Regions from separate parts of the Homo sapiens genome. Here all the other regions are linked to region 1. Evidence: promoter capture Hi-C in 16 types of primary human blood cells and fetal thymus (Javierre and others, 2016). All regions are on one chromosome and are shown on one strand. The core of a region is centred on a gene start or on the middle of the fragment in contact, and the rest is flanking DNA. Distances in the headings are between cores, read along the strand shown.

Region 1 (5,000 bases), core at 638-3,137:
AGGAGGCAATCCTAGTAACACAACAAACTTCCATATTTTGCATCTATTTAAATATTCCTTAGCCTTATCAGAACATCGAAACTGAAGTGGATACAGAAAAATTTCCACTCAAAAGCAGTTCGTTTGTGAAAATGACCACTGGTAGATCACTTGAATTAATTTAGTTTACTCGAAGTACGTTTTAAATATGTAAAGGAAAATGCGTGGCAAAACACCTGTAGATCTTCTACAACTTTATTTGGGTAACAATTTGTCTTATAAGTATTCTTAATCATCAAAAGCAAGGAAATAACATTTCTGCTTCTTTCCATTCCATATTTCCCTACTTGGTTAAAATTTTTCAGTCTGAATTCCTCATACATTATGAATATTAGAACAAGGTACGTTACATTACCATACAATAAACAAGTTATTTTTATTTTCACTCTTCTGTATATTTCCCTAAGTGCTTCACCATCGGAATGTGCAATTTTCTTAAAACACGAGGAAAACTAAAATGTAGAGTCATTCAAATTCCAGATAAGTTACAAATCACACAACTTTGTGCCAATTCAGATACTTTCTCAAGTAAACACTATTTTTGCGAAGATGCAAGTCTTTCTAGTCAGAATCACGAGAATAAACTCTATCCATCTTAACACCAACTTTAACAGCAAATAATTTTTTTTTATGACAAATTGCGTTTTTTTTTTTTGTTTTTTTTTTGTCTGTAAGTGTCCAAAACTATCCTATGACTTATACTCCCGGAGCACGATTCCCTGCAATGTGAAGAGAATCGACAGATAACATTTCAAATGTGGGTAGATGGGGGTGACGTGACAATCCTAAAACCTGAAAATTTCTTAGTACCCATACCATACAAGAAGAACCCAGTTCGGACCCTGCAAACGGGGCTCAGGTCCAACTCCAAGCACTCTAGTTTCCCACCCCGCCCCCACCTCGAGAAAGGAGGGAAAACAACTTTTATTGGCCTCGTCTCTCAGGGGACTGGCAAACTAGCGGGGCAGTGCTTAGGCCTGGACACGTTTCACAAGGAGGCCCCCGTCGGGGGCTGAGAGGGCAGATAGCTGGAAAGCCCAGCATTGATGCATCTCCCCCAGCCGCCACCCCGCTGCCCCACCCCGCCAACAAGAAGCCTGGGCCAGCCGCCCCGCCGAGCGACCCCCCAGGCCCCTCCGCTGAAATGAACTCGTTGTCATGTGACGCCGCCGCCGCTAAAACACCGCAGAAACGCAGGTCGGCAGGCGGCGGAAGGCATTCGCGCCAGCCCGCGTCGGCCCGGCCCCGCTGGGCGCGGGCGACTCCCGAGAGCCCGGGCGGGGGGGGGCGGAGGGCGGGCTTGGCGGCGGGCCCGAGCGCGCCACAAAGGCTTCCGCGCCTGTCGCCGTAGTGCCCGGGCGGGCGGGGGCAAAATTTTTGGTGCCCGCGGGAGGGGTGGCAAGCGACGAAGACGCCGGGGTGCCCACCGCGCCCACAGACGTCTCTCCGGGCACTCGGACGGCCCACGACCGCCGCACCCCGCACAGGCCCGCGCGGCCTCCCTCCCCCGCACGGGGCCCGCGCCCGGCCCGCCCGCTCGCCGCTCGCGCTCTCTCGCTCTCGCCCGGCCTCCATCTTGGATCGGCGCTTCCAGCCCCCGCGCCGCTGCCGCCGCATTCCCCCTCTTTCCCGCCCCCCGCCGCCGTCGCCGCCGCCCGCACTCACCTCAGCTGCCCATCCGGGCGCCGCCGACCATCGACCTAGTTTCCCCCCAAAAGTCTCCGGTGTGTTATTCCCGATGTGGGGGGGTTGTTACGGGGTGGTCGCCGGGGGTTCGGGAGCGGGGGCCGCGCCTTCAACGGAGCTGCAATCCTAACCCGCCATCTGGTGGCATTTTCCACACGCCAATGGCGCCGCTGCAGACTTGGGTCCGGACCGCCCTCTGCTGGCCGCGGTGCTCACTGCCTTGCTGACGGGACGGGCCTGCCCGGAAAGGGGAGGGAGCTGAGGCGCGAGCTAGGGGCCGCGGCAGGGGCGCGCGCAAACGCTTTCCAGTGGGGATTGCGCGCACGCGCACCAGCGGGGCGGGAAACGTGGCCGCTGCGTGGCGGCCCCGCCCCCACACGGAGCGCTCGCGCAGTTCAGCCAATCGCGAGAGGCGTAGGCTTCTGGATAAGGGCGCTGTGGACGGTTCTTGGGCCGCCCGCGGCTGGCGGAAGGACGGCCACGGTGGCGCCTGCGCGTCCGGCTCGCCGAGTTGCCGCCCGCCATTTTTGGAGCTTCTTGGAGATCTAGGCAGGAACCCGCCCCGGGTTCCTTCACCGAGGCTCCTCCCTAGGTCTCAGGGCCGGCGCTTTCCTCTGTTCCCGCCCGGCTCCTGCTGCCCCCATCCGCAGCTCTCGAGACGCCCTGCGGAAACCCGAGGGTGAGGCCGCGCAGATCCCTGCTCCTACTTGGATTTAGCAAGGGCCTCAGAGCTTAGCATTGTATTCGCGATTTACGGCTGACAAGCGCTTTCACCAGGCAAGAGTGAAAAGGTTTCAAAAGGACTATTGGGGACTTCCCTCGCCATTAATCTAGACGAAACACCGCCGGCCCTAGGCCGATTGGCGTCATCCTGCCTCTGTAAAGCACATCTTTCCGTGGTGTCGGCTTTGCATAAGGCGGCAGCATTGGCTAGTTTGTGAGAGGAGAATATAACTAGACTGAGAAGATAGACTCAGCTGTGAAAGTGGATTTCTCCCTCCACAACCTAGGACTACTTTCAGTAGCTCTGAAATACACATGAGAATCTTAGCCTTCTAGATGCCAAAAGAGAAATAATCAGTAAGGTGAAATCATTAACAAACTATTTATGTTTAACGTCGCCTCTTCCCTGATCTCCACCTGCCCGTCCGTGGCCATGGATCCCTACCTTTCACCTGCTTACAACTTTTCACCACAAAAGTGAATCCTTACTCTCCTGGATCATTAGCCCCATATATGACTAACTTCTCTATCGCTATAGCCAACTCTATTTCAGTATGGAATCGCTCAACTACTTTATAGTCTTAAGGGCCTGTCTCCAGTAGGTTACCCCTATTTGTGTTTTCTCTCTCAAGGGTTTGCAAGATGTGTGGCTTTTCGCTGGAGGAAGTCATAACTGACCAGATTGGATATGAATTCGTGACTGGACTCCTACTTATAATTTTCTTGCGTTTTCTTCTAATCTCTGGCTGATCTCCTATTTTCCACAAAGACTGTTTCAAGCTTTCCATGTTGTTAAAGATGCCAGTCCCAGTCCATACTAATAGATAAATTCATCCAGTTTCCTGGGCTCAGAGCTATGGGACTCCAATTCCGGTTTGACCTTGCCTCCATTATAAAATATCTGTGACCACCTCCTGTTCGTGATCCCAAAACTTCTAACCAAATTAACCCAGAACCCTTCTCTCCAAAGCCACTCCCTCTGCCTGAAACTATGCCATCCCTTCCCACCTTCTCCTTCCACCACTACTTTCCTAGCGCCTTATAATGTAAATATGTTCTTATCCACTGTCTTCTTCCTTTCTGTTTCTCAGAAGTTTCTGTTGTCTTGGCTGGGTGCGGTGGCTCACACCTGTAATACCAGCACGTTGTGAGGCAGAGGCGGGCAGATAACATGAGGTCAGGAGTTCGAGACTACCCTGGCCAACATGGTGAAACCCTGTCTCTACTAAAAATACAAACAGCCAGGCGTGCTGGTGTGCGCCTGTAATGCCAGCTACTCGGGAGGCTGAGGCAGGAGAATCTCTCGAACCCGGGAGGTGAAGGTTGCAGTGAGCCGAGATCACGCCACTGCACTCCAGCTTGGGCGATAAGAGTGAGACTCTGTCTCAAAAAAAAAAAGTTTCTTTTGTCTTTTTTTTTTTTTTAATTCAGTGATGTTACTCCCTCCAGTTGCTATGCTATCAACGTTCCTTTCATTGACACATTCTCAAAAGAAACAGTTACGGTTTTCACCAATCCCCATCCCCTACTTGAAACCCTTTTTCCCTTTCTTTTAAGACACTTCCCCGGATCTACACCTACCTAGTTTGCTGGTCTTCTGATTTCTTTGCTAGCACCTCCTCTTTCTTCAATCTGTTCTCTACTACATGCCTTCTCTTAGGTCTCCCAAAATTAGTCTGTTCTTGATTTTTCCTTAACTGAGTTTCCTCGTGTTCAGCTACTTGCCAGAAAGCTGCAGCTCAAACACTTAAAATAATTCATCTCTCTTATTTGAATTTCCTAATTTATCCTAACATTGTAATTTCAGCTAGTGTAGTGATTAAGAACATGAACTGTGAAACCAGACTGCTCTGGAAAGCTTTGTAACCTTAGACAAATCTCTTTCTGTCTCAATTTCCTCAACTGCAAAATGGAAATAGCAACAGTACCAATCTCATAGGGTTGTTACGAGTGTTAAACTATTTAACTATTTAATATTTAAACTATTTAATATATTATAGAAATGCCATCAGCATTATTACATTTATTGTTTTTAATCTTACTAAGAAGTTTTTAGCATTTTTTTAACTCTGAGGGCATGGGTAATCAACTTTCTAAGTTTATAGAAATCTAAAATTGTATTTTGCCCTCACACTTAATAATTGATTATAAGTCATTTTTATAATCAATTTTATAAATTGTTTATAAATAATTACATAGCAGCCTAGGCTCTAAATTGTAGGGCCAGACTTGATTATTTTCTTTCAAAAAAGCCTAAGTCCCACCATACCTCATTCAGATGGCTTGCTTTTTTTTCTACTGCTGCCATCCTTATTCAAACCCTTCTCCCCTCCCATTGCCTTACACCAAAACTATTGCACTAGCCTTGTAAACACCTCTCCCTTCATTCACCTCCCTTTTGTTTGTGTTTGTTTGTTTGTTTTTGAGACAGGGTCTTGCCGTGTTGCCCAGGCTGGAGGGCAGTGGTGCAGTCATAGCTCACTGCAACCTCTGACTTGGGCTCAAGTGATTCTCACACCTCAGCCTTGCTAGGTCCAGAAGTAGGTGCCATT
Region 2 (5,000 bases), core at 1,476-3,975, 1.6 Mb after region 1:
AGCCTGGGCGACAGGACAGAATGAAACTGTCTCAAAAAAAAAAAAAAAAAAGTCTCTCTTTTAAGGAAGCATAGTCCTTACTTTTTTTGTTTCAATGAAAAGTAGAAGAAAAAGAAACCCAGAAAAGTCTTCTTGATGTCTTAAATGAAATAAGAGAGTTGGACTGACATAACCCTGGGCCCACAACTACAGTCCTGAGGAAGGTGATAGAAGCGTTCGGAAGGGCCCCACACCCCTACCCAGAGGCTCAGACTTAAGTCACCAGCAGCTCTCTGTGGCCCACCCCTGTCATGGAGTGAGTCCCACCAGCTCTGGGGCCAGGACTCTGGGCAGTTGAAGAATCTCAGCCCTGGGAGCCAGGCAAGAGTGGAACAGTGTGGGAACTATCCGGACTTCACTAAGCCTGCATTTGGTAGGGAATGAATAGGGAATGTGTGGCACCTTTTACCCAGACTGTCCCTTGATGTCCTGTGATTTCTGCCTGTCTCAGTTATAAAGGGAACCCTGAATAACCTTGCTGAGAGAGAGGACAAGGTTCCTGGGTTGGCCAACTTTAGGCATTGCTTTCAAGGGGTTTACCTTATAGAGAGGTGACCTTTACACAGATGCCTCAGTAGAAGACGGGAGGGGAGGCTGCTCGCTCTCCTCCTTTCAGCAGGAGGGAGCACTTAGTTTGAGTACTGCATTGTACTCAGAGCTCTGAGTAATACACATGAAAAAATAACAACATTGCTAACAAAAGTTATTACCCCCATAGGAGCTCTAGGGCATCAACACATGAAATGACCATAATATGGGGCAATAACATTAGAGACACCACAGACAACATCAGACCAGCCAGGAAGTGTCTAAAGGAGTCTCATCACAGCTCTGCAGGCGTTACAGGACAGGTATCATCCCTCCTGTCTACGTAAAGGATACGGAGGCCAGAGAGTTGAGGAAATGAGTCACACAGCAATGAATGGTAGGACCAGTTGATCAGAATTTACTTCAACCAGAACATTCACGTATGAAGTGGCTTCTGACTCTAGAATCCTAGAATATCAAGGCTGGAAGAAGGCCCTTAGGGATAATTCACACAACATCCTCATTCCATAGATGGGCAAGCTATAGCCTGGAGAGGTTATGTGATGTAGTCAAAGACACAGTTGGCTATAGAGGACACAAGAACTACATCAGGTCTTCTGACTTCCAGTCTAAAAATCCCACCCCACCCCACCCCACACCCCTCCCACCCCCAGCATGGGGTACCCTTAGAATGATGCTGCTTTCCCCTTTCCTCTTTTTTAAACCACTAGGCTTTTGAAATCCACATGCAAACTGCTGGTCCTGCTGAGGACAATAAGAGAGAAACCAGATGTCTCAAAACCACTAATGCTCTATTATCTAGGAGGCGCTGTAGCCTTGGTATGCATCTTACTGGGGCCAGCTGATGATGAGGCATTTTAAGTTCGTTTTAAAATGTTCCCATGTTGCAGATCATCCAGCTGATCTCCTTATGACCAAGCACTCTCTCCTAATTCCAGGGTCTATGCCTGCATGTTTTTACCATCACTTCAGAATCAACCACTATCTATTGTCCAGGACCAAGAAGAAGAGCAGCTGCTGGCTTCTGAATTCACTTGTCCCACATGCAAATGAAGTAAGACACTCTATATAACATATGTCCAGCACATAATATATCTCAAAACATATTTGTTAATAAGTGAAATTTGATGAGAACAGTGGTGGGAAAACTGGGTCTCCACAGAGCACACAGTTACAGACTCATGCCCAAAGTCAAAAGAACCTATACTGTATTCTCTGTGCAAGCTGCAGTTGTATTTCAACAAGAACAAAATAACGGTCACATCGAGTTATGTTGATTCGTATTTTCTTAGTTTATAGTTTTATTTAATGCATGTTTAGGTTTTATGGTTGTATAAGCACTATAAATGTAAACAGCTTCTACTCAGTTTTGTTTGCATTAATTTTGTTTGCGTAAAATTTGTCATCACTGGGGTTCCAAGATAAGTTTTGTCCCTTTAAGACGGAAGGGTACATCACTCAAGTTTGAGAACACTGTCACGTACTGCTGGCAAACAGAATGTCACTTTTATACTGCAACCCCGCTCTAATCACCCTCCTCTTCCCCGAGCCCAACCCAGAGCTGGAAGCTAGCGCCCCTTGAGGCTTACCTGCAGGGCAATTTCCTTCTTCCTGCTGCCCATGGCTCTGCAAAGAAGACGAAGCCCTGTTACCGCGGCCGTGGGCCGTTCCCCCGCAGCCTCGCGACAAACCGCTGCGTGGATCAGCAAGCCCAGAGCCTCCTTCAGACAAGCCCCCCTCCTACGGCCCCCGGCCCCTTTTTAAGGTGCTTCTAACTGGCGGCAAATCAGCACACTGATACAAAGTGAACACCCCGCGAGGAAGCGGAGCCTGCAGTCCACGGGCTCGTGGCTCGCCGGGCGGTTTTCTGGGGATCTGCGAAGCCCCCTCCCCACCCCGGAGCCGGCCAGGGGGCGCGCGCAGAGGCCGGAGTCAGTGCGCCGGGCGCGGTGCAGCCTGTCGGGCACAGGGTCGCCAGTCGAGGAATTCTGACAAAAAAACGACATGGGACCCTGTTATCCCTGCTGTTCTTATGGATTACTGGGAAAGTGAGCCACTGCGAACGACAGGTACAAGATCTTCGACGCGCCCGGAGTCACCAACCGAGTCTGCCGCGACCTAGCCGCGGTCGTCATGGCAACCTGGCCCCCCCGCCAGGCCTGCCAGGAAAGCCGGCGGACACGTAAGCCACGCCCACTCTGGGCCCAACGCAGTCTCTCCGCGGAGGCTCTGAACCCAGCCAGGGAGAGGCAGGAGGGAGTCCCGCCCCTTGCCCTCCATATCGGACCATAGGAACCCACTCATTGGCTGCAGTGTTTGTCAGCGTCTGGAGGCTTCGAACCCACCAAGCAAAGACCCAGTGCATCTGTGCGTTGCACAGTCGCATCTGTGAATCCCTGCATCCCTCCTGCCCTGCCTGCCAAGACTGATGTGCAGCTTTTCTACCATCACATACCGGTATAATGTGTGCAAGGTGGGGGGTGTCTCCAGGTTTTGAGGGATCTGCAAGCGTTCTCTTTAAGGCAAAGAATATGAAATTACAAATTCAAAATTAGATATGAAAGTCAAGTGAGACACATACAAAACAGTTACAGACATTGTAGATATTAATCCAACTGTATCAATAACCACTTTAAATGTGAATAATCTGATTACACCAATTAAAAAAGAGATTGTCAGAATGGATTTCAAAAACAAACAAAGCCCAATCGTGTGTTATCCACAAGAAAATACATTAAAAGCAAAAGGATAGAGAAAGCTATACCAGGCTGACACTAATTAAAAAAATAGCTGAAGTAGGTATGTTAATTTCAAGAAAAGCAGACTTCAGAACAAGGAAATTTATCAGGTATAAACAGGGACATTACATAAAGTTAAAGGGATCAGTTATTTGGGAAGACATAACAATACTTAATATGTATGTACTTAAAAACAGAGCACCGAAATATGTGAGGCAAAAGAAGATAAAACTGCAAGGAAAAATAGGTAAACTCAGTATTATAATAGAATGCTTTCATACCATTTTTAAAAAGTAATTAATACATCCAGCAGAAGCAAATGAGCAAGGATATAGTTGAACTGAAAAATATCAAATTGATCTAATTGACATTTATGCAATATTTAGTTCAACAACAGCGGAATATAGATTCTTTCTCAAGCTCACATGGGACATTCACTGAGATAGACCACAATCTAGGCCATAAAACATAGCTTAACAAATTTAAAAGGATAGAACAAAGTATGTTCTCTGACTGCAATAGAATTAAACTAGGAATCAATCACAGCTGATGAAAGAGATCTCACAGATTTAAATAAATGAAGAAATATTCCGTGTTCATGGATAGGAAGAATTAATATTGTTAAGATATCAATTCTTCCTAAGTGAAGCATACACCAAATGATTTCCATCCAGGGAGTGCTGATACCCTGTTTGGCCATGAGGTACCCAGCAACCCTCTGTGAAGTACAGGGCGATGGGTATACTGGAGACCGAACATCTTCCTACCTGTCATCCTGCCTTCTCCCACTTCAGCTCCGAATCCACCTACTCTTTTCTTGCATTCAGTCCCATGGCAATATTCAGTTCCATGATAATATTACGCAGAGCCACAGGCAGTCCTTAAGACACCACATTGCAAACTGAGTTGACTAGATGCAAATCATGTTCATTGCCACAAGGTGGTGGTTGCTGAAGCTCTTGAATGGTGTGGAATCTCCCTTAGAATTTAGTTTCCAAAATAAAATTCAAATCAGATGCTAAATTCCTCTTGCCAGCACATGGAAAGATAGTGACATTTATTCTTTCTGAAAGGGTTAAATTTCTTACCATGTGGTCTCTATTACAAAATGTACTCACATCTTTGCCAGGCTAAACCTCAGAAACAAATTTAGGTAAACCACATGTCCCAGTTTGCCTGGGACACCCCCACTTTTCACCTGTTGTCCCATGCAATTATTAATAGCAACCCCTCTCACTTTCAAAAGTGTACAGTTTGGGTAGGGTGCAGTAGCTCACGCCTGTAATCCCAGCACTCTGGGAGGCCGAGGCAGGTGGATCACTTGAGGGCAGGAGCCTGGCCAACATGGTGAAACCCTGTCTCTACTAAAAAAAAGTATCAAATAACTGGGCCTGGTGGTGCATGCCTATAATCCCAGCTACTTGGGAGGCTGAGGCAGGAGAATCACTTGAACCCAGAAGACGGAGGTTGCAGTGAGCCAAGATCGTGCCACTGCACTCCAGCCTGGGTGACAGAACAAGACTCCATCTCAAAGAAAAAAAAAATTACAGTTTGGACAACATGGAACCTCATCAGTTTTTTCCCAGATGAATCACCTTGGGCCACTCCTGCTTTTTAATAAAACTTCCATCTTTTACATGTTTTGTGACACAGGTGAATGGTTTTTTTTGTTGT
Region 3 (5,000 bases), core at 1,654-4,153, 1.5 Mb after region 1:
AAGGGTCCAAAAGTCTAATGAAATAGTCAAATAACTAAAGAGACCATCCATGATAGTTTACCTAATGAATGCTATGTTAAAGATAAGCATAGGGGTCTGGAGATCACAAGGGGGGGCATCAGCCACTTAGTTGTCCCTCTTAACTAATATTATAAGCATTCCATTTCACATTCAGCTTATTTTCCTTAGTCACTGCTTCCTTCATGCCCCTTCTGTGATCAAAAATATGATTGCTCCTTAATCCATCTCCCTTTAGTTTGTCTCATCTCCCTATCACTTTTCTAACTTTATGTTCCATGCCACCCTAAAGCGAACTTGTTTTTCAGTTCAGGCTCCTTGTATTGCCCCAGGAACATGCCATTTTCATTTCCAATATGGTCTTGTATGAACGATTTCTCCTTTTGTCCTCCCATCTGCTTATCCAAGTCCTGACTATTGTCTAAGGTTTATCTTAGTTCTTAACCATTGCCTCAAAACCTTTTAAGCTTATTGAGCATCTACTTTTCTTTACCTTATAAACATTCAGTTTTTAATTTAGTACTGACTTACATTGATAGTGTTATTTTTGCCACTCCACGGATATTGTGAACTCCTCAGACCAGGCATCCCATTGTGTGATACTTTCGTATACTTCATAGAGGCTAGCACAATGCTGAGCTCAAAAACTAGTTGTTGAATTTCAGTAAAAGTAAGTAGAGCATTTTTCCCAACATTAAAAGTTAGTGGGCATGAGATGACATTCTTTTGGTCTACTGGGAAAAGGGTATCTGACTAAAAGTTAGAAACACTTTTATTTTGCATAAAAATGTAACATTAAAACACAGAAGGAAAAAGAAAATGAATTCACTGAATTCATTTGTCTTTTCCATTGGTTCGTTGTCAATGTCTGATGTCCTGGCCATAATGGAAAAAACAGTTGGCATAAAAGACATGGGTTGAGACTGGCTCTGTCATTTAATATTGGGTTCTGAAAAAAGGCCAATCCTGAGTTGTAGCTTTCTCTCTGTAAAATGGAGTTAATATTACTCTAGATTATGATGAAGATGAAATTAAGTAGTGGATATGGAATGCTTTGTAAATTTGAAAGTAATGTAGAAATCTTGGATAGTGTTGTTGTGTTCCCATCTTGGATGATAGCTGTGAGTTTGCATTTTACAAAAATAATGGATATCTAGAATCACTATAAATAATGATCTACTGACAGTAACTGCTTTGATATTTCCAGGTCAGATTGGCTTTCTTGCCTCTCAGGAGGAGATAGACTTTTACTCTAACAAAGTGATGACCTGGGGGTTTCAGGGCATGCTTCCTGAGGAAGTGACATTCAGACCTGAAGGATGAGTAAAGCTAGTCAGGGGAAAGTATGAGGGAGGGGATAAGGAGATGACGGAGAAAGAATAACTACACTCTGGGAACTGAAAGAAGCTTCATCTAGATGGCTGAATGTTGTCATCTGAAATTGATTGCTTAATCCTGTTAATCCTTTTGATTTTAATTCTTCATGGAAGTGATCTATTAACATTCCTTTATAGCAACAATTGAATAGAATTTATTAACATCTTTTTTTCCTTATCTAGCACAGGTATATTTACTTACTAAAGCCAAAGCGAGAATCTTTTTCTTTAGACATTGTTCCATTGTATTGTGTTCTCTTTAGTTGGCATTTCCTCTGTTGCCATCAGTTACCTCCTTCATGTCCTTTTTGTAAACTATTAAGAGAATTAGAAAATTGGTGTTGGACAGGTTTTTGTTTGCTCTTGTCTGTAAAAACATGGCATGGTTTGAGATGTTTGGAATGGGTTCATTTGGTAATGTTAGGGACCGCTCATTTCTGCTTAAGAAGAATGGAGAGGAAAAACTGGGGAAATATTAGGGTTGGGAGTTCTGGAATAGAAAGCATTCAGAATGGCACTTAGCCTACACAGACTCTAAGTAGGTAGGGGCTGGATAAATGAATGTTCTACATTAGTATAGGCAGAACACATTAAGAGAAAGGAAGACAATGAAAGTGAACAACAAGCTGGTAGGTTAAGGTCCATATGCTGATGATTAGGAACTAAAGCCTCTAAAGAAAACAGGCATCCATGAGGATGCGGGAGCTTAGAAATCTCTTACTAACTTTAACTTTGCTAATTGATCCTTTGATATCATATAGTTTTATATTCATGTATCAGAACTTGCTAACAACCTCAGTAAACTTCATTCAGTTCAGTCCCATAAACAACAACAAAAAAATTGCTACTTATTTCTTGTAAACCATATAGAAGATCTGAGGGATACTTTACAGAGGGATAGGTCAGGCCTGGAAAAAAAGCCCTACCCTCAGGCACTGAGCTAATGGAAGAAAGACCAGGCATTCTCAGTATTTGGCTTGACTTGTAAAAATGCCATTCAGAAACTTGTAGGGAAAATCTGCTTTTAGCACATCACTAGTTGTTGCAGTATTTTTCTGCAATAATCAAAAAAGGCAATTGAAGACAAGGGTTAATCGTTACCAGGTTCTTTAATGCCAGTAAATATGATTGGTGTTAGAAATGTATGCTGACTATAACATTTATTTGTTGATTTTTTTTTCTTTTTTTTTTTTTTGAGATGGAGTCTCGTTCTGTCACCCTGACTGGGGTGCAGTGGCGCGATCTCTGCTCACTGCAACCTCCACCTCCCCAGCTGAAGTGATCCTCCTACCTTAGCCCCCCAGGTAGCTGGGACCACAAGTGCGTGCCACCACACCTGGCTAATTTTTGTATTATTTGTAGAGATGGAGTTTCGCCATGTTGTTCAGTCTGATCTTGAACTCCTGAGTTCAAGCAATCTGCCTGCCTAGGCCTCCCAAAGAGCTGGGATTACAGGTGTGAGTCACCGTGCCCGGCCAGGGAAGTTTTTTTAAACATTTTATTAGTAGTACTGGGTTTATTTTGAGCTATTTATTTTTTCTCTACATTTCCTTTTGAACCAACCACAAATTTGTGAGCCAAGTGATCAGTGGTAGAGGTTCTCTTATTGTGGAATAGAGTTTTGCTCCTGGTGAAGTATAGAGCTCTGTATAGCTAGAATAAAAAATACTGTGAATATCTGAGAAATGTAAAAGATTCTTTGTTATTTTTTAAATCGCCTTAAGAGATAACTGGCTGCTTAAGCAAAAATAGTAACAATGTATTATGTTGTTTCTAAGCAATTTAAAAATATTGTATAACAGCAGCCCAAAAAATGAATGGGAAAGTGGAAATACATATGCAAGGCTCTTAAAATACATGTGCAATGGGCTAATATCACTTGAAGACTGACTGTGATAAATTAAAAGATGCATTGGAAAATAACAAAGGAGTACAGTTAGTAAGACAATAAAGCAGATAAAATGGAATTGTAAGAAATAATATATAAAGAAGTAAAAAAAAAAGTGAACAAAGTGTGATCATTGAAACAAGGAGTTAATGTTCTGTGGGCTGTTTTTTCTGTTGTTGTTGTTGTTCGTTTAACTCACTCCCTACTCTTAGAGCTGAGCGTGAGGGTGGCCTGTATTCCTTTGTATCCAAAGTATTGGTAGGTACCCTTTCTAGAAGAACTCAATTCTGTACTGGAAGTCTTTCGCCAGTACTCAGGATATCTCTCACTTTCTACAATACGCCGTTTTACAGCCCCCACATTCACTCTGCACCTATCTCTATCCCTTCATTAGTACTTTAGGTGAAAAAAGGTTAGTGCTTTTACTTTGTCAAATCTAAGATATTGCATAATGAAGTAGAATGATCTTTGATTTTTCTTCAGTGCTGTCTCAACATACTTTATTTTTTCTTCCCCTTAATTCAGAGACATGAAAAATGCTGTAATTGGAAACAACAAGCAGAAAGCCAATCTCATTGTTTTAGGAGCTGTTCCAAGGTATGTTTGCTGTCTCACCCCTTTCTTGCCATTCATACTAGTTTCTAATGTATTTCTTACTCTCAATTATAGAACCCATTTTTCCTGTATTGTCTGTCTAATTCTTAAAATAAATCCTATTTTTAAAAATAAATGTAAGTATTTAAACTATCTTTAAGGAAAAAAATTATAAAGTAACAGAGAATGTAGTAAGAAGTGAATGTGTTAATACATTTTGGAAACTCAGGAAGACCTTTGACCTGATGACAAAAGGGTTCGTAAAGTACATATGCAATGTACAACAGCCTGATACTTTCTTCTCCATTTCCTTAGAGCCTTGGCAGTTTTTTGTGTGAGTGGGTAATTTATTAGGAGCCTTAAGACCTTTTTGAATTTAAAGGAAAAAAACCCTGCTTGATTTTTAATCCAGTTTCATTTTTTAACTTCTGATTTTTACAACTTGCTGTTTTTTAAGTTAACGTAAGAAGTTTAGGAAGTTTAATTTCTTCTTTTGATGACCTAATAAGCTTCCTTTAGGCAGGCAATGACAGTTACATAACTTCCTCTTTACTTTTGCTCCTCAGAGCTAAGTTTTCTGTGCAATTGCTATTAGCTTTTCATTCAGAATTATTTATTATTTTGTTTTTTTCTCCTTATTTTCTGGTTTTGATACAGAATTAATGGTTTAAGTGTTTTAACTCACCAACCTCAAACATATACTTTAGTAACTATAAAGCTGTCAGCAGCCTTTCTTAGGGGATTTATGTTTGGTATATATAAATAGTGCTTTATGGAGCATGAGGGTCCTGTCTTAGAACATAAGGTAGATGGTTATAAGTGGAGGAAGGTTAGGGTTTGGGGAGTATTTGTTTGGCAAGCTGGGCTGGAGTGGAAATGAGAGGATCTCTTCCTTTTCCAAATGAGAGAGCTGGAGAAAGAAGAAACTACCTTTGCTTGAGGAGCTGCACAAGGGCTCTGAATATTCCCTATAGGCTCGATATCTACAAACTGCACCACTGCTCTGGATTCAGAGCAGTAGCATTTCTAGTTTGAGTTTAAGATCTGGCAGCACATGGCATTTGAGAGTCTTCATATTTTGGAGACCCAGCAGGAAGTGGTAGATGACATGGACTCTGATGACG

What was found. The method cuts DNA at HindIII sites, captures the fragments that hold promoters and counts their contacts. A CHiCAGO score of 5 or more calls a contact.
Region 2: a contact is called between the fragment with the promoter of NME9 here and the fragment with the promoter of STAG1 in region 1, in 1 of 17 cell types (naive CD8 T cells). The highest score is 5.2, in naive CD8 T cells.
Region 3: a contact is called between a fragment that was not itself captured here and the fragment with the promoter of STAG1 in region 1, in 1 of 17 cell types (monocytes). The highest score is 5.9, in monocytes.

What each region holds. Positions count from the first base shown.
Region 1 is chr3:136,750,491-136,755,490 of GRCh38, forward strand. STAG1 (STAG1 cohesin complex component) reads right to left here and starts at 1,888. Exons shown (of 34, transcript NM_005862.3): 1 at 1,705-1,888. STAG1-DT (STAG1 divergent transcript) reads left to right here and starts at 2,181. Exons shown (of 1, transcript NR_185911.1): 1 at 2,181-5,000. RefSeq lists silencers at 1,212-1,591, 1,912-2,141 and enhancers at 1,333-2,264, 2,152-2,471, 2,265-3,196. The HindIII fragment of the contact is 7,208 bases long and covers 1-3,226 here.
Region 2 is chr3:138,327,126-138,332,125 of GRCh38, forward strand. It overlaps NME9 (NME/NM23 family member 9), which reads right to left and starts at 2,726. Exons shown (of 11, transcript NM_001349018.2): 1 at 2,178-2,726. The coding sequence starts at 2,210. It overlaps LOC124909438 (a long non-coding RNA gene), which reads left to right and starts at 2,808. Exons shown (of 2, transcript XR_007096113.1): 1 at 2,808-3,045. The HindIII fragment of the contact is 16,828 bases long and covers 1-5,000 here.
Region 3 is chr3:138,218,119-138,223,118 of GRCh38, forward strand. ARMC8 (armadillo repeat containing 8) reads left to right here. Exons shown (of 22, transcript NM_001363941.2): 3 at 3,808-3,879. Among named protein-coding and RNA genes, the nearest start is that of ARMC8, 33 kb to the left of the region's middle. RefSeq lists a silencer at 1,312-1,381. The HindIII fragment of the contact is 2,960 bases long and covers 1,424-4,383 here.